Regions from separate parts of the Homo sapiens genome. Here region 1 is linked to region 2. The links are contacts of gene promoters, found by promoter capture Hi-C in human tissues and cell types (Jung and others, 2019). All regions are on one chromosome and are shown on one strand. The core of a region is centred on a gene start or on the middle of the fragment in contact, and the rest is flanking DNA. Distances in the headings are between cores, read along the strand shown. Region 1 has its middle 39 kb from the start of HINT1. Region 2 holds the start of CHSY3 (chondroitin sulfate synthase 3).

Region 1 (3,800 bases), core at 676-3,175, 1.2 Mb after region 2:
GGCTGGTTTTGAACTCCTGACCTCAAATGATCCACCTGCCTAGGCCTCCCAAAGTGCTTGGATTACAGGCATGAGCCACTGCATCTGGCCACAGGAAGCATTGTCTATTCCCTAAGGTGATATAACACATTGGTAGAATAAGTGGTGAGAATATCAAAATAAATCTATTTTGAATAAATGGTCAAATATACTAGGCTCATCAAAAAGCTTATCCACCACAATCAAGTAGGCTGTATCCCTGGGATGCAAGGCTGGTTCAACAATAAATGTGATTCATCACATAAACAGAAGTAAAGACAAAAACCACAATTATCTCAATGGATGCAGAAAAGGCCTTTAATAAAAGTCAACATCCCTTCATGTTAAAAACAATTCTCAATAAACTAGGTATTAAAGGAACACACCTCAAAATAATAAGAGCCATATACAACAAACCCACAGCCAACATCATACTGAATGGGCAAAAGCTGGAAGCATTCACCTTGAAGCTGGCACAAGGCAAGGATGCCCTCTCTCACCACTCCTATTCAACATAGCATTGGAAGTCCTGGCTGGGGCAATCAGGCAAGAGAAAGAAATAAAGGCATCCAAATAAGAAGAGAGGAAGTCAAGCTATCCTCGTTTGCAGATGACATGATCGTATATCTAGAAAACCCCATAGTCTCAGCCCAAAACCTCCTCAAGCTGATAAACAACTTCAGCAAAGTCTCAGGATGCAAAAATCAATGTGCAAAAATCACTAGCATTCCTATATACAAACAACAGTCAAACCAAGAGCCAAATCATGAATGAACTCCCATTCACAATTGCTACAAAAAGAATAAAATACCTAGGAATACAGCTAACTAGGGAAGTGAAAGATCTCTACAAGCAGAACTACAAACCACTGCTCAAAGAAATCAGTGATGACACAAACAAATGGAAAAAATGTCATGCTCATGGATAGGAAGAATCAATATTGTTAAAATAGCCATATTACCTAAAGCAACTTATAGATTCGATGCTATTCCTATTAAACTACCACTGATATTCTTCACAGAAAAACCATTTCAAAATTCATATGGAACTAAAAAAGGGTCCAAATAGCCAAGGCAATCCTAAGCAAAAAGAACAAAGCTGGAGGCATCATGCTACCCAACTTTAAACTATATTACACACTATAGTAACCAAAACAGCATGGTACTGGTACAAAAACGGACACATGGACCAATGGAACAGAACAAAGAGCCCAGAAATAAGACCACCCACCTACAACTATTAGATCTTCAACAAAGTTGACAAAAACAAGCAATTAGGAAAGGATTCCCTATTCAATAAATGGTGCTGGGATAACTGGCTATCCATATACAGAAGATAGAAACTGAACCATTTCCTTACACCTTGATGTGGTTTGGCTGTGTCCCCACCTAAATCTTATCTTGAATTGTAACTCCCACAATTCCCACGTGTGTGGAAGGGACCCAGTCGGAGGTAATTGAATCATGAGGGCGGATCTTTCCCGTGCTGTTTTCGTGATCGTGAATAAGTCTCATGAGAGCTGATGGTTTTAAAAATGGGAGTTTCCGTCTCTTCTCTTGGCTGCCGCCATGTGAGACATGGCTTTCACCTTCTGCCATGATTGTGAGGCCTCCCCAGCCATGTAGAACTATAAGTCCATTAAACATCTTTCTTATGTCAATTGCCCAGTCTTGGGTATGTCTTTATTAGCAGTGTGAAAATGAAATAATACAGTAAATTGTTACCACTATGGTGGAGCATTGCTGAAAAGAGACCTGAAACTGTGGAAGCAACTTTGGAACTGGGTAACAGGCAGAGGTTGGAACAGCTTGGAGGGCTCAGAAGAAGACAGAAAAATGTGGCAAAGTTTGGAACTTCCTAGAGACTTCCAATACTGTGTTGAATAGGAGTGGTGAGAGAGGGCAGCCTTGCCTTTTGCCAGCTTTCAAGGCGAATGCTTCCAGCTTTTGCCCATTCAGTATGATGTTGGCTGTGGGTTTGTTGTATATGGCTCTTATAATTTTGAGGTGTGTTCCTTTAATACCTTTGCCCAAATGGCTTTGCCCAAAATGCCGACAATGATATGGACAATAAAGTCCAGGCTAAGATGGTCTCAGATGGAAATGAGGAAATTTTTGCGAAGTGGAGCAAAGGCGACACTTGTTACGTTTTAGGAAAGAGACTGGTGGCATTTTTCTCCTGCCCTAGAGATTTGTGGGACTTTCAACTTGAGGGAAATGATTTAGGGTATCTGGCAGAAGAAATTTCTAAGCAGCAAAGCATTCAAGAAGTGACTTGGGTGCTGTTAAAGGCATTCAGTTTTATAAGGGAAGCAGAGCATAAAAGTTCAGAAAATTTGTAGCCTGATAATGTGATAGATAAGAAAATCCCATTTTCTGAGGAGAAATTAAAGCTGGCTGCAGAAATTGGCATAAGTAGCAAGAAGACAAATGTTCATCCCCAAGACAACGGGGAAAATATCTCCAGGGCATGTCAGAGGTCTTCACAGCAGCCCTTCCCATCACAGGCCTGGAGGCCTAGGAGTTAAAAATGGTTTCTGTGGGCCAGGACTAGGGTCCCTCTGCTGAGTGCAGTATAGGGACTTGGTGCCCTGTGTCCCAGCCACTCCAGCCATGGCTGAAAGGGGCCAACATAGAGCTTGGGCTGTGGCTTCAGAGGTGCAAACCCCAAACCTTCACAGATTGCATGTGGCGTTGAGCCTGCGGGTACACAGAAGGCAAGAATTGAGGTTTGGTAACCACCACCTAGATTTCAGAGGCTGTATAGAAATGCCTGAAAGTCCCATTCACAATTGCTTCAAAGAGAATAAAATACCTAGGAATCCAACTTACAAGGGATGTGAAGGACCTCTTCAAGGACCTCTTCAAGGAGAACTACAAACAACTGCTCAACGAAATAAAAGAGGCCACAAACAAATGGAAGAACATTCCATTCTCATGGATAGGAAGAATCAATATCGTGAAAATGGCCATACTGCCCAAGGTAATGTATAGATTCAATGCCATCCCCATCAAGCTACCAATGACTTTCTTCACAGAATTGGAAAAAACTACTTCAAAATTCATATGGAACCAAAAAAGACCCCGCATTGCCAAGACAATCCTAAGCAAAAAGAACAAAGCGGGCAACCCACTCAGGTCCTTTTCCACATGGTGGAAGCTTTGTTCTTTCACTCTTTGCAATAAATTTTGCTGCTGCTCACTCTTTAAAAAAAAAAAAAAAAAAAAAAAAAAGCTGGAGGCATCATGCTATCTGACTTCAAACTATACTACAAGGCTTCAGTAACCAAAACAGCATGGTAGTGTTCTACCAATAGAACAGAACAGAGCCCTCAGAAATAATACCACACATCTTCAACCATCTGATCTTTGACAAACCTGACAAAAACAAGAAATGGGGAAAGGAGTCCCTATTTAATAAATTGTGCTGGGAAAACTGGCTAGCCATATGTAGAAAGCTGAAACTGGATGCCTTCCTTACACCTTATACAAAAATTAACTCAAGATGGATTAAAGACTTAAATGTTAGACCTAAAACCATAAAAACCCTAGAAGAAAACCTAGGCAATACCATTCAGGACATAGGCATGGGCAAGGACTTCATGACTAAAACACCAAAAGCAATGGCAACAAAAGCCAAAATTGATAAATGGGATCTAATTAAACTAAAGAGCTTCTGCACAGCAAAAGAAACCACCATCAGAGTGAACAGGCAACCTACAGAATGGGAGAAAATTTTTGCAATCTATCCATCTGACAAAGAGCTAATATCCAGAATCTACA
Region 2 (3,727 bases), core at 853-3,352:
TTCCAAACAGTTGATGAATTGGGTTATTTATGCCCAATGAGAATTAATGATTTTGTAGATCAACAATATGAATGGCATCCATTACCATAAAGCCCAGTTGAATACTGCAGGGGAGAGGGTACTGGTGTGTAGGTGGACTTATTTGTCCTTTACTGTTGACCATATGCAATAGGAAATCCTCTGTAAATGTGCTGTCCTACATGGTAACCCCTAGCCACATGGGGCTATTTAAATAAAAAGTAATTAAAATTAAATAAAATGAAAATTCATTTCTTCAATCACACTAGTCACCTTTCAATGCTCCATAATTTTATGTGGCTACTGTCTTATCAGCACAAATAAAAAAAAATTTCCATTATAGCGAAAGTTCTATTGAATAGTACTATTCTAGAAATTTTAAAATGCCTTTGACGATTTAAAAATCAGAAGGGGCCTGTTTGACTAGCTTTGTATTCTAACTAAAATTTAACTTTGAGAGAGCCCAGTAATCTGTATTCCCAAGTGTCTCTGGGAAAAACCTAGACATGGAAAAGGAGCTTCATTGTCCAGCAGATGAAACATTTAGTCAGACGTGCTCATGCACAGCCAGGGACCGGTGTGGAAAGAACCATTCCTCCAAAGGCTCCAGGCAGGCCTAGTGTTCCAGGGACGCTGCCAGCACCTCGCTGGATCGAGCCATTATGTCTAATGCCATTCAATACCATCCCTTTGCGTTTGATGTCTAAAACAGAAGACTGAAATTTGAAGAGAAGGAAGTACTTGGGATGCCAAATGCACCCCAGACTATAGCTTTATGCACAACCTTTAGAGAGAAATTTGTTAATGCTCCCTTCTTCAAAAATCATATACCTTCAGGTAATTTCTTCCTAACGTAACTAAGGCACAATGATTTTGGCCAATACAGCTTAACTTTTTTTGAGATTCTGTTGCTGGACAATTTTCCTCCCTCATTGGAGAGGTAAAATTTTCCTGTCTTTGCCTTAGAAAATAAAACGGTTCATAGGCAAGAATAAAAATCATATCCTCCATTTTATTTTTTGATTAAGTTCACTTATTTTGTGGGGGTAAGAATTTCTTTCGTTTGGATCTTCAGGGTATTGGCCCTGTGAATGTGTGCCCATTTCTCCACTATTTGCCAGTCCCACTGAGCCAATCTTCTACCAAGACTGAAAATAGACCATAGTTCTCATTTCTTGAACAGATATCATCAGGAGAGCCGAGGGGGAGACCATTAGGCAGCCCCACATTTTCCAACTCAACAGGTGGAGGACATGGGATTTTTACGTTCTTTGGGGATTGAACCCCCACACACCACCAACTCCCTTAGCCTTTCAGGATAAGTATTTCCAATCCCTCAGAGATTTTCTTAGGAGAGACCCTAACGACAATGGTGCTTCTGTGAAGGACTGAGGAGAGCTGGTGGACGATGCAGGTAGGAGGGAAGTTAGGCTGGGAGGAGAGGTGCTGGGATGGGACGTTTGGTTTCCTGACAAGTGACCGACTAGAGAGAGAAGGCGCGGAGTGGCAGCGGTAAGAACAACGTGGAAAGGACGGAAAACGCGAAGAGTGGCGCCCTGGCGGACCTGGGGCGGGGCAGAGTGGTAAGGGTCACGCCAGGACGTACCCGGCTGTGGGCCGGGGGAGGAGAGCACGGTGGGACAGCAACGAACTTGCTGGGGGCTCCCGGACCCGAGCTCCGCCGATGAGGTCAGCGGAGCCTAGGCGCCGGGAGGAGGCCAGTAGAGCCCCCAGACACGAGTGTCGGGAGGCCAGCGGAGGGGCGGGACGGGACGGGAAATGGGACGAAGAGCAAGAGCTGGGGGAGGAGGGAAGAGGGGGCGTCGGCGCTGCAAGCCGGAGGCGGCCCGACAGGGATCGTTTCCTTCCGGAGAGGAGGCCGGCTCTGGACTGAGGCGCGGACGGGGGGCGTCCAAGGGCGGGTGACGGGGAAATACCGCGGCCCGCGCTTCTCTCCGGCTGGCAGCGGTGCCGCCTGCGGCTCCTCCTCCGGGCCAGCTCGGAGCCCGGCGGCGGGGGGAGCGGGAGGCGGGAGTGAGGGCGGGGGCTCGGGAAGGAGGGAGGAGGGAGGGCCCAGGCGCGCCACTGACAGGGTGGCAGCCTAGGAGCGGACGCGTTGCCGCCGCCGCTGCTCCTCCTCCTCCTCCTGCAGCTCCTCCAGCTGCCGCTGCTGCCGCCGCTGCCGCCACCGCCGCCGCCGGGAGAAGTTTCACTCCCGACCCTTGCTCGGAGCCCCGGCCCAGAGCTGAGCGGGAGCCCGGCAGGCAGCTGCAGCCCGCGGCAGTCGAGGCGTCCGCGGCGCTTCGACCTCCAGCCGGTGTCGGCGCCTAGGCGGCCGGCTGCGGCCGCGGCTGGGGGCGCAAAGGCGGAGGAGGGGCGGGTGTGAGCCGGGGAAACCGCGTGCCGCGCCGCGACAGCCCAGCGAGCGTCCGCGCCCGGGACAGCCGCGATGGCTGTGCGCTCTCGCCGCCCGTGGATGAGCGTGGCATTAGGGCTGGTGCTGGGCTTCACCGCCGCGTCCTGGCTCATCGCCCCCAGGGTGGCGGAGCTGAGCGAGAGGAAGAGACGTGGCTCCAGCCTCTGCTCCTACTACGGTCGCTCTGCTGCTGGCCCCCGCGCCGGCGCTCAGCAGCCGCTCCCCCAGCCCCAGTCCCGACCACGGCAGGAGCAGTCGCCGCCCCCCGCGCGCCAGGATCTCCAGGGGCCACCGCTGCCCGAGGCAGCACCCGGGATCACCAGTTTTCGAAGCAGCCCCTGGCAGCAGCCACCTCCGCTGCAGCAGCGGCGGCGAGGACGCGAGCCTGAGGGCGCGACGGGGCTTCCCGGTGCTCCAGCGGCCGAGGGGGAGCCCGAGGAGGAGGACGGGGGCGCGGCTGGGCAGCGGAGAGACGGCCGGCCGGGGAGTAGCCACAACGGCAGCGGGGACGGGGGCGCTGCCGCCCCGAGCGCCCGACCCCGGGACTTCCTGTACGTGGGGGTGATGACCGCGCAGAAGTACCTGGGCAGCCGCGCGCTGGCCGCGCAGCGGACCTGGGCGCGTTTCATCCCGGGCCGCGTGGAGTTCTTTTCCAGCCAGCAGCCCCCCAACGCCGGCCAGCCCCCGCCACCCCTGCCTGTCATCGCGCTACCGGGTGTGGACGACTCCTATCCTCCCCAGAAAAAGTCCTTCATGATGATCAAGTACATGCACGACCACTACCTGGACAAGTATGAGTGGTTCATGCGCGCCGACGACGATGTCTACATCAAAGGTGACCTCCCTGCGCCGGCTTTCCAGCCTGCCAGTCTCCCCGACTCCTTTCTCTGTAACCGGTCCTAGCCCCTGCCCAGCCCCTCCGCTGCTTCTCTGCCAGCACGTGCTTCGGGCTCCCACAGGCCCTGGCCCGCCCTCCCCACCCCTTGCATCCGCCCACAATTCGTAGCCCGTTCCTCGTCTTCTGCAATCTGGACCCTCCTCACACCTGCCTGGCTTTATTCGCCTTCCTCACTTGCTGTTTTCGGTGCCGCCTCGCGCTTGTCCCTTAGTCTTTACCTCGTCGGAGAGGTTAGAAAAGGAACCTTAGAGCTAAACCAAAGGCCATTCCCACTCTGCCCTCCTCTGAAAGCCCCTGCTGATGGTAGTTTCCCCAATCGGTCCAGAGGGGCGTGGTCTTCAGGAAGGGAAGACGGAGGATGCTAGCTACAACTAGTCTGGAGATCCAGTGTTCTG

What was found. The method cuts DNA at HindIII sites, captures the fragments that hold promoters and counts their contacts. A contact is called where the count stands out against the background at its distance.
Region 1: a fragment that was not itself captured here is called in contact with the fragment with the promoter of CHSY3 in region 2 in 1 of the 25 tissues and cell types used here (dorsolateral prefrontal cortex).

What each region holds. Positions count from the first base shown.
Region 1 is chr5:131,124,744-131,128,543 of GRCh38, forward strand. No RefSeq gene overlaps it. Among named protein-coding and RNA genes, the nearest start is that of HINT1, 39 kb to the right of the region's middle. The HindIII fragment of the contact is 5,567 bases long and covers 1-3,800 here.
Region 2 is chr5:129,902,363-129,906,089 of GRCh38, forward strand. CHSY3 (chondroitin sulfate synthase 3) reads left to right here and starts at 2,103. Exons shown (of 3, transcript NM_175856.5): 1 at 2,103-3,269. The coding sequence starts at 2,468. It overlaps CHSY3-AS1 (CHSY3 antisense RNA 1), which reads right to left and starts at 3,565. Exons shown (of 3, transcript XR_002956248.2): 1 at 3,480-3,565. RefSeq lists a silencer at 2,261-2,470. The HindIII fragment of the contact is 7,648 bases long and covers 1-3,727 here.